Linked DNA regions of Homo sapiens: all the other regions are linked to region 1. The links are contacts of gene promoters, found by promoter capture Hi-C in human tissues and cell types (Jung and others, 2019). All regions are on one chromosome and are shown on one strand. Each heading gives the region's core, a stretch centred on a gene start or on the middle of the fragment in contact. The rest is flanking DNA. Distances are from core to core; before and after follow the strand shown. Region 1 holds the start of FGF6 (fibroblast growth factor 6). Region 2 overlaps FGF23 (fibroblast growth factor 23). Region 3 overlaps FERRY3 (FERRY endosomal RAB5 effector complex subunit 3).

Evidence for each region. Contacts are between HindIII fragments. The study calls those that stand out against the background at their distance.
Region 2: a fragment that was not itself captured here is called in contact with the fragment with the promoter of FGF6 in region 1 in 2 of the 25 tissues and cell types used here (mesenchymal stem cells and mesendoderm cells).
Region 3: a fragment that was not itself captured here is called in contact with the fragment with the promoter of FGF6 in region 1 in 2 of the 25 tissues and cell types used here (lymphoblastoid cells and mesendoderm cells).

What each region holds. Positions count from the first base shown.
Region 1 is chr12:4,444,463-4,447,906 of GRCh38, forward strand. It overlaps FGF6 (fibroblast growth factor 6), which reads right to left and starts at 1,353. Exons shown (of 3, transcript NM_020996.3): 1 at 763-1,353. The coding sequence starts at 1,108. The HindIII fragment of the contact is 16,147 bases long and covers 1-3,444 here.
Region 2 is chr12:4,368,494-4,372,397 of GRCh38, forward strand. It overlaps FGF23 (fibroblast growth factor 23), which reads right to left. Exons shown (of 3, transcript NM_020638.3): 3 at 1-2,290. The coding sequence ends at 1,850. Among named protein-coding and RNA genes, the nearest start is that of FGF23, 9.3 kb to the right of the region's middle. The HindIII fragment of the contact is 4,544 bases long and covers 1-3,571 here.
Region 3 is chr12:4,531,522-4,535,020 of GRCh38, forward strand. It overlaps FERRY3 (FERRY endosomal RAB5 effector complex subunit 3), which reads right to left. Exons shown (of 14, transcript NM_020374.4): 3 at 2,636-2,781. Among named protein-coding and RNA genes, the nearest start is that of FERRY3, 5.2 kb to the right of the region's middle. The HindIII fragment of the contact is 5,337 bases long and covers 1-3,499 here.

The DNA.
Region 1 (3,444 bases), core at 103-2,602:
AGTTAGGGGCTGCAGTGACCACTTAGCTATCTGTTTAAGATGAGCTTTGAATCTGGGCTTTCAGTGACATAATTACTTGAGGTCCTTGACTTGAGTAAAAAAATAAATTCTGATTCTTCTTCTTCTTCTTAATGTGTACTCTACATGTTTCAACAAATCTCAACCCACTTAATCTTGAAAACACAGCAGCCACACCATAGCTGATGGCTTTCTTGGATCCTGCAGCCCCCATCCTTTCTTGGATAGGAGACTAACCATACAGCAAGCTGGCAGCTTGCAGGCAGCTTGCAGGATAAGAACCTGGGGACAGAGGGAGCCGCTGAAATAAAAAGAAGGATGTGCTTCAGTTGGACATTTTGCAATTGAATTTCCCTTCCTTCTCCAAGAAAGAAGCTGAATAAAAATGAGCTTGTGTCAAATTTGATCCAAGTATACTAACTGATTCTCCCTACCCAGGCCTTGGGGGCTTCCCAGACTAATGGTTCCTAATGGTCTTACAAGGCATCAGATGGGCCAGTAATGCTGAAATAGTTAGTGCCACTGAGGATCTAACCAAGGCGATGGCAAAGAACACCAGGATGCTTGGACCGCAGTATATTGAGCTTGCACCCAGGCAGGGTCACGTGGAATCATCTAAGTGGTGAGCAGCATTTCTGCCCCCTTTATCGTGCATCCTGTCCGCTAGAGCAGGGCCCCTTCACCTTTTAGCCCTGCATGAGCCCAAACCCCCAAGCGTCCCGACTGGCTGCAGCTGGCACTCACTGTAGGGGTTCTCCTCGTGGGTCCCGCTGATCCGGCCGTCGGGGAGCACCTGGAGGTGAAAGCCGATGCCCACGTTGCAGTAGAGCCTCCGCTGCCGCTTGATCCCCACCAAATAGCCACTTTCCCAGTTCACCCCGGCAATCTCTCCAGCTAGCCCGGCGCGAGACCTGGACAGCAGGGTGCCCCAGCCCCTCGAGTCCAGCAGCGTGTTGTTGGCACGGGTGCCTGCAGGCGAGGGCACCACCATGCCCACTAGGATGCCTAGGAAGACGAGAGCCCACAGCGTGCCCTGCAGACGTCCTGCTCCCCGGGACATAGTGATGAACAGTTTCTGTCCCAGGGCCATCCACCTTGCCTCTCAGGCACGTGGTCAGAATTAATGGCCCTAAAAATACCGCCCTTCTTGTTTTTCTCCCTCCGGCATGGCGGCAGGGGCTTATTTTTGGAAGGCAGATGAAGGCTGCTGACATGAAACCAAAGCCTCCATCGGGCACTCGGGTTGAGAGCAGAGGGACCCAGGCTGAGCCGCGGCCGGTAGAGACCATGGCTCGGGGACGCTCTCTAGCTCGCCCGCTTGCTCCGTCCCTAGTTGATGATATTTGATTTGACCTATCTTTATAGTTGCTTCAGCAGCCCGGCCCTCCCCTCCACCCATCATCGCCCTGACGTCAACCCGCCCAGCTCACTTATCCAGGGCTGTAACATTAACCTGCTCTTGGGCCTGGCTGCCTCCCCAGACCCCCATCACCCTCCACACTCCCCAGGGGTTCTGGGAGCCACTGTCATTCCAACTATGAGGCAGGAATGAAGTGAGCAGGGAGCATCTCTGGGGGAGGGGGGAGCTGGCTGGGGGCCCAGGGAAAGAGAGAGGCGAGAGGCCACCCAGGACCCATATTGGGCAGAAGTTCTTTGCCTGGCAGCGCTGGCTTCCTTATTTAGAGGGCAATAGGTAGAGGCAGGGATGGGAAAAGGCTTGTGGTAGTGATGACCGTAGCCTCAAGTCACCCTTGAGATCTTTTCATGGAAACAGCTCATGGTGGAGGGGAACACTGAAAGGCCAAACCCTTTCAGCAGGAGGGCACAGACATTCTCAGGGGGTGGGGATGGGGGTTGTTCAAGGAGCTTTAAGATTGTGGAGGGAAGGAGGGCAAGGGCAAGGTTTGCCTGCTCACTGTCCTGGTCCCGACATTCACCTGGGGTGGAAGTTGTGTCTGGCCTTTGACACAGCCCCCTGGCCATTCTCCCTGGATTTATCCCTGGCATGTGACTGATATTATTCCCATTTCACAGATGAGGAAGTTGAGGCTTAGAGAGGATAAATGACCTGCCCGAGTTACCATAGCTAATAAGTAGCAAAGCCAGAACTTCTAAGGTGTGCCTGAGTCTAAAGCCTGTGCATGTCTAATGCTTGCAGTAGAAGTTGGCTGGCCCATAGAGTCTGTTTAGCTCCTTAAATGCCAATAGCACATCACAGAGTTATTTCAGTAGCATAAAATGATTTATTTCTTAAAAAAAACTTGAGTGTCTTTGATGTACATGAGAACTTCTATATTTGCAGATAACTTTTGCTGGGCTGATATTACACTCAGAAACTAGTAAAAATATTTCTGCCAGGAAGTTATTCCTACACTGATTTATCTTATTCCCATATTACTTTTAAATAGATTACATGTCTAACTGAAGTGAGAAAAAAAATGTAAAGCTACCAGAAAACTCACTGCACAAATTTCTATACAATATAAGACAGAACTATTAATACGTCTCTGAGGGTGAATAAGTTAACAAGGGTCGCTGGGGAATTGAATTAACTTGAGTTAAAAATCCTGTTTCTTGTACTTCAATCCAGGCCTTAATCTGTTGGTGAGACATTAGCACTGATTTTGCCGGGATTGGAGAGAGTATGTGTGGGGTGATGACAGTGGCATACAGATGGATTTGAGTGTCCTGAGCAGTAGAGCTGGTCCCAGCAGGCAGCTCCCTTAGCCACACTCTACACCCACATTGCAGGCTGCAGGCAGCCTGGAAAAGCTCCTGGGGTGAGTTCCATGGCCCAAGGACTCTACTGAGGCACCACCGCCTTCCCTCTGATTCTAAACCTTCTGCTGTGCCCTGGGTCCCAGCCTCTGGTCTGTGGCTTCTACCTGCCTTCTCTCTGCCCTTCTGCCTCGTTCACTGGGTTCGATGCTTTGGTTCAAATTTCTGTCAAGCCATGTGTTTAGTGTTGCCCTAGACATGCCTTCTGAAATCCTGTGAAGCCCAGATGTCTGTCTTTACCCTCAGCTGGTAAACTGAATGGGGAGGGACATAGGCACCACTTGTTCCTACTGTCACCACGGCCCCCTGACTTCCCCATTGGCTTCCTCTCCCTTCCACTGCCGTTGTCCCATACCCAATCTCATCATCACCAGCACTGCCATTTCCCATGAGGAAAGATGATGCCTTATAGGCTCAGATTGAGTCTACTATGTAGGCCTTTGTTGGAAAACTGTTTTTAAAAATCCTTCTGCAAAGTAAAAGGTTCATGAATAATCCGAAGACAAAGTTGTCAACAAAAAGAACTTCACTTTGGATTTCCAGCTGGGTTTCATATAGTTAAGCTTTCATGGATGCAAGAGCAGTGGGGACACTTTCTCAGTGATGTTGTTTGGAATCTTGTGTTAATTATGCTGGTGGTCCTCACTT
Region 2 (3,904 bases), core at 50-2,549, 76 kb before region 1:
AAAAAGGGGTTACATTTTTATAAATATCTATAAATATAGAAGGATAGGCAAACTTCCAAATAAATAAATAAATACTGCCACATGACGAGGGATATAAGAAATTGTAGGAGCTATTTTGGCTTTGCCATAAAGAAAACCCCTGATGGTAGTGTTGAGTTTGTGAGATTACAACTAGTTTTCCACCAAAATCCTTTTGGGATCTTTCACTGAGGAGCCTCCAATAGCTATTATGCAGGATAATATTTCCAACAGGAAATGAAAACAGAAATATTAAAATATTTGCCATGCATGGCTATATACTATTATACATAGTTTTACTGTTTCAGAATAGGAACCAGTCCTTCAAGTTCAGCTTAAAACCATCAGGTAAAAACAGTTGCCCAACATTTCTCTCATAACCAAAAAGAATAGATCAAAGTATAAGGTTAGTATGTGATGGCAGTGAGAAAAAAAAAAGTGACTGGGAAGAAGCTGTTGTTGAATCGACTTTGCTTGTTAATATACTGTCCTTTAGGTGGTCATTTAAAGAGAGGGAGGAAAATGGAGCCCCCTTACAGGAAGAACCGCAGTAATGGGGTAAGGCTTCATTTAATGCACCAAGAATTTCCAAGGGGATTGAGACCCAGATGTGTCAGCCTAGGAGAGTTTTAACTAATCGAAGAGCCACTGCTGCTGCAGAGCCCTAGAGACCACAGACAAGAGCCTGACCATGTGGTTGTCTTTTCATAACTTCTATAACATGTCCCCTGATTTCTTTCCCCCTGAGTCCTTGATGCCACTTCATTTAGAGAAAAGGACACGATTTTTCAGTCCACAGAAAACCTAACCCAGAGCAGTCCCAGTCTCTCAAAGCCCCCTTCCCAGTCACATTTTTGTAGTTTGTTCAGAATGGATTCCTACTCAACCTGGAAGTAGAGCCTTAATTAAATGCCTCTTAGGAGAGTTGGAATTTATTTCCATTTTGAAAAGCAAATTCTAGCAGGGCAGATTTTCGTGAGCCAGTGTAAAAGCTATTTATTCCTTAGACCAAATTTTCAAAAACCAGAGATGGGGCCAAAAGGTGAGGCTGTATCATGAACTGCTTGGGAACAGAGTGGGGCCATTCTGGGCCCTCTGGCTGTGGCTGCACAGAGGGAGACAGCGAGACAGAAGGTGCTCACCCTGTAGGGAGGCTGAGTTTTCTATTATGATTCCTGCCTCATTTCAGCAAGCATCAAGTCTAGCTGTCAAGTTTTCACCAGCCTACCACCAGTCTTTTGACAGCTCTTCCCCAGAGATGCTCAAGGAAGAACGAAGGCTTGAAAGTAGTGTTTTCATCAACTTGCCCCATTCAGCTGTTAATGTCAAGGTTTGCACACTCAAATGCCAGTGGGATCGGGGCATCTAACATAAATGCATAGGGCAGTGGAGAAGCTTCTGGGATCTCCGATTTCCTCTTCCCTACACCTTCAAAGTCTTGAGCTCAGGAACCCACTGCTTTTTTTTTTTTTTTTTTTTTTTTTTTTTTTTATGCTTAAAAGTGATAAAGAGGAGAGGCACAAGGAAGAGAAATATGTTGGGAGAGACCCCTTCTCTCTACCTTCATGAAGGGGAAATTTCTAGTTTACCTGTTGGGGTTTCCTATTGGGAAAGGTGTTCTATATGGAGTGAGGAAGGCGGTGAAACCCCATGACTTGGGCCTCAAAGGTTGGTTCTCACAGGACCTCCTGTGGAAGGGACCCCAGAGAAGCAGCAAATTCCATACATGCCCCTGTCACCTTTCCCATCCTCGGAACGTCAAGGGACCTGGTCCTTGGGAAGAGCTGCGTTTGCTGAGGGATGGGTTAAAGAGGGTGCCCTTCCAGCGACCCTAGATGAACTTGGCGAAGGGGCGGCAGCCTTCCGGGCCCGTTCCCCCAGCGTGCGTGTTCACTCGACCGCCCCTGACCACCCCTAATGGGTCACTGGCCATCGGGCTGTTGTCCTCGGCGCTCGGGAGCTCCTGTGAACAGGAGGCCGGGGCCGGGGTCATCCGGGCCCGGGGCTTCAGCACGTTCAGGGGGTCCCGCTCCGAGTCGTCCTCGGCGCTCCGGGTGTGCCGCCGTGGTATGGGGGTGTTGAAGTGAATTAGGGGGATCTCGTTCCTCCGGGACAGGAACTGGGAGTACGGGGGTGGGTTCATGCCTGGCAGGAAGGCTCTCTTCGCCCGGCCCAGACTGACCAGGAAGTGATACTGAGGAGAGTGGTAGACGTCGTACCCGTTTTCCAGCGTCTGGTGTTGGAACCTGCAGTTCTCCGGGTCGAAATAGTGCTGGAAGGACAAGAGCGAACCACGTGAAGGCTGGCAGTGGGGGCCCCACCCACTCCCCAGCTCCTCCTGGGGCCACATGCTTGTGCCAGCCGGCCTGAAGCTCTGCAGTTCTTAGGGCGTTGAGCCTTCACCCCTTTGTTCCCTGCTGGGGTAGAGTGGTTTTGATTAATGCTCAAGCCCTGACTATATAGTTCGCCCTTTCAGAGACTACGACTACTGGGGCCTCCGCTTACTGCCTGGAGGCCCGGGCTGGCCTGGCCTGTGGTTTTCCTGGAGTAGGCACCACCTTGTCCTTCCTGCCCTCTATCTTTTCCAAGCCTCTGCTGGCTGAAAATTGGCTTGGGTTTGTCTCTTTACTGGAGAAAGGAGAGGGGATGGAGTTTATAGGGTCAAACATGAATGAGAGCACTGACGGGATTGGAGACATGAACTTTGCTGACAGATGAGCTGGGTTTGAATCCTCTACCACTAGTACTGGGTTTTACTGAGTGCCCCACGAAGGCCTTTGCCTGTTATTTCTTTTAATCCTCAAGCTCCACAAAGTAAGCAGTTTACAGATCAGGACTATCTACATGCCTAGAGGGGTTAACGGATGTTTAGTTAGTTATCTATATTTCAATAGTGGTTCAACAGATTTTTTGTTTGTTTGTTTACCTACTCTAGCCAGACACTATTGTAGGGGCTGGGATGCAGCAGAAAGCAAAACAGAAAGTCTCTGTTCTTGTGGAGTTTCTAGTGGGCATGTGTGGTGGTCAGAGACTCCTGAGATAAGCAGTCCTACTATTTTACTATCTCAAAATCCTCCAAAAGAGGCCAGCAGCCTTTAGTTTGGGAAATCCTTTGCTTACCAATCCGAATGAATAGCTATCACAATTGGGGCAGGGGTTATTAATTAAAAATCTTTAACTGGAGGGAGCTCCACAGGTCACGTGGTCTATTCCACTTCGCTTTTTCCAAGTGAAAATGCTGAAGTTTGGAGAAGTGAGGAGATTTACCCAAAGTCACAGCTAGTCCCAGAATCAAGAAGACACCAATGGCTTTTCACCCTTTCTAATGTACTTTACAACGTGAATTGACATGACTTGAGGACCTACGACTACATACCAGGGCCTGTGCTAGATTCAAAAGTGGGTTCCACAACCCAAATGTCCAACAATGATAGACTGGATTAAGAAAATGTGGCACATATACACCATGGAATACTATGCAGCCATAAAAAATGATGAGTTCATGTCCTTTGTAGGGACATGGATGAAATTGGAAACCATCATTCTCAGTAAACTATCGCAAGAACAAAAAACCAAACACCGCATATTCTCACTCGTAGGTGGGAATTGAACAATGAGATCACATGGACACAGGAAGGGGAACATCACACTCTGGGGACTGTTGTGGGGTGGGGGGAGGGGGGAGGGATAGCATTGGGAGATATACCTAATGCTAGATGATGAGTTAGTGGGTGCAGCACACCAGCATGGCACATGTATACGTATGTAACTAACCTGCACAATGTGCACATGTACCCTAAAACTTAAAGTATAATAATAAAAAAAAAAAGTGGGTTCCAATGGGCAGTGCAGACTAGGGGCTGAGAGCCTGGGATCTGGAGCCAGA
Region 3 (3,499 bases), core at 804-3,303, 88 kb after region 1:
GTTTTTCCTTGACCTAATTTACGCCACTCCCTCAGGACAGATGCTACTAGAAAGGGGACTGGGACGGCTGAGAGGAATGGGGCACTGAGGAAGTGACTGCAGAGAGAAAGCGATTCAATGTCCAGGCCATTATTTCTCCACCTCCACTTTCAGGCATAACGCCTGACTTCTTTGAGGTTCAAACCATTCAGCACCCCTTATCTTTCATGGCCATCATTATCTAACAACCTACCTGTCTGTCACTCACCCTCATTCCTGTAAAGCTTTGGCACCAAGTTCAAAGAATTCCTCTCTGCCCCACATCCTGCCATCAACCTGGGTTACTTGGATATCCATGTGGAAACCCATCCAAGGCACTGCCTTCTTACTTTCCCGAACTCTACAATCTTTACTGTGGAGTCCCAATTAGGGAAAAGGAATCAGGCTGGCAGGACCAGGGGAAAGCAAAAAGAGAAAGCAGATAAGCTATAAGTCTGCCTTTCCTCATGGTCCAGACCAAGCTTGTCCAACCTGTGGCACAGGATGGCTTTGAATGCCGCCCAACACAAATTCATAAATTGTGAATTTTTTTTTTTTTTTTTTTTTAGCTCATCAGCTATCCCTCATGTTAATGTATTTTATGTGTGGCCGAAGACAATTCTTCTTCCAGTGTGGCCCAGGGAAGCCAAAAGATTGGACACCCCTGGTCCAGGCCACGTAGCCCTCCTGCACTCACCTTTCACCAGACACCTGCAAGATAGCTGCAAGACTGCAGCTCACTGCAGTCTTGGGGTTATCAGTACTGCACACAGCACTGTACAGCATACAGCATAAACGCTGTCCTATAAAATCTCCAGCAAGCCTTTGTTTCCTTGAAGTCAGCTTCTCTTCTGTTGGCCTGCCCATTGCCTCCTCGCAACATATTTTCCTACTTTCTCTAATAAACCTACCTTTCTTTATCTACAACTGTCTTGGTAAATTCTTTTACCCCTGTACCACCAGCCCAGATAGTCATCGTTTACCTGCAACATTTACTAGTTCTCCACACCACCTCAGCCATCCATTTAGTATCCTCACCAGAAACTCAGTCCGTCAGTATTCAAACATTCTAGTCTCTGACTACAACCTCCACCCAAGATTTCTCGCTCAATAATCCCCAGGTAATTGATATTTAACCTCATCAGGACCTCCACTTCATAAGTTTCTCAATGTTTTCATTTTTTTTTAAATCAGCCATCAACTGCCACTTAGCTTCACTTCTTTCCCTATGTAGCTTACATTTTGTGATCTAGCATTCAACCACTGTCTTGCCGATATCCTCAACTCCCTTGACTGATGTACCTTATATTACCCACCTAACAAAACCCTCATCTTATTCCTCTTCTCTATGCCTGCAGTCGGGCTTTAGAGAGCTGTAGCAGAAAAATCACAAAACTCTATAAAGTTTATGGTGACAAACTGGTGCCACTCTTAATCTTGGCCTCAATGATGCCTGGCAATCCTATCATTCGCTGCTCGGTTTTCTCCTTAAATATCCAACAATCTTTTTATACCTACTGCCTCATCTAAACAAATAACCTGTCTTTCCTTAAAGTTGAAACACTCAGAAGAGAATATTCTCAACTTCCTGCTACCAAATTAATAAAATTATCTGAATTTATATCCAACCTTTCCTGCTTCTCTTTGGCTGTAAGTGGAGAAGCATCTGTCTTCCCAGTTATGATTAATTCTCCATTTGAGTTCTGGATTCTATCCCTTCTAGTCCTAAACTTTGCCGCCTTAAAAAACAAACAAACAAACCTCTGACCTTGTGTTCCCATTTAGCCAGTGCCCCATCCTTCACCTCTTTATATTCGAACTTCTTCAGTTAGTATACTAATTCTTCCTATTTCCACACTCCCACATGCTTAGAGTCAGTGAAATCTCATTTCCACCACCACCAACTTACCGAAACTGATCTTGCCACAGACAAGATTACTTGATAAATACAATGGATATTTTTGAGTCTTTTCTTTGCCTCTTATACTTGATGTCATCTTGGCATTCTCTCATAGTTTAATTTGCAGTGCTCTTTCTTAGTAAATAAAATCATTTGTGATATACCTAATGGCATCTTAGACTTTATGAAACAGGGTATATTATTTAAATAGAAAATGATATGATGTGACTACACAACAATAATGAAGATAAGTTTATAAAAGTAAACCAAAGGTTACATGAATGCTGTTGCTGATTTAGGGTTGCCAGATAAAACACAGAACACTCACTTAAATTAGAATTTCAGATAAATAGTGAACAATTTTTTTTAGTATAAATATGTTCCATGTAATATGTTGATATACTAAAAAATATTCATTTATCTGAAATTCTAACTTAACTGGGTGTCCTATATTTTTAATTACTAAATCTGGAGACCCTGTGCTGGTGAGATATATGCAAGTAGCCTCTTGTTTTACAAAGGTATTACATAAATAGCATTTTGTCTTATGTGCTCACCCTGATATAGGAAGCACAGAAGCAGCAACATATACATTATAGAATATTGTATGTGGAGAAAAAGGATCTTATAACGATTTCAGGATTACCACAGCATTTTAAAAATTTTCACCAAAATCCAGAATATCCTTGAAATTTACAATCTGACCTATTTTCTTACCTCAGCATAAGCTTTGGCCCATGTACTCGCCAGCTGATGTAAATCTACTTCACCTGATTTCACAGCTGCCAGGGATGCTTCAGCATCTCTATCATAATCGCTGAGGGATTCTTCTTCTATAAACTGAGTCAGAGCTTCTTTTAAGTCTGTTACAGGGACATCAAACACCATCGTCAGCAAAATCCAGGTATAAATAGGGAACATTTTACTTGGCTGAGAATTCCAATGTGAAATCTTATTGTTAAATTTTTATTTTTTATTTAGAGATGGGGTCTCTCTCTCTGTTACACAGGCTGGAGTGCAGTGGCATGATCACAGTTCACTGCAGCCCTGAATTCCCGGACTCCAGTGATCCTCCCACCTCAGCCTCCCGAGTAGCTGGGACCACAGGTGCATGCCACCATGCATGGCTAATTTTTGTATTTTTGGTAAAGATAGGTCTCACCATGTTGCCCAGGCTGGTCTTGAACTCGTCAGCTCAAGTGATTCACCTGCCTTAGCCTCCCAAAGTGCTGGGATTACAGGTGTGAGCCACCTTGCCCAGACATGAAATTTTATTTTATCAAGCTGATACTCTTAATAGAATCTCCAACTAAAATGAAATCAGCTTAGGGGATCATTTAACTAATTTCATGATTATTTTCCTTTACTATTACAGGCTATTGCATAGAGAAAGGTCAAAAGTCTTAACTCTTACGTATTCCCTTGATACTAATAAAGTAATGTTACTTTCTTAAGCCTGATATTTCAGTTTGAAGCCAAGTGGGTATAAGGACATAAAGAAAATGCTACAGATTTTGAAGGTCTGAACATTACTGTATTTACATTAAAAAGAGTTTTCCATGTAACTTTAAAGGGTACATT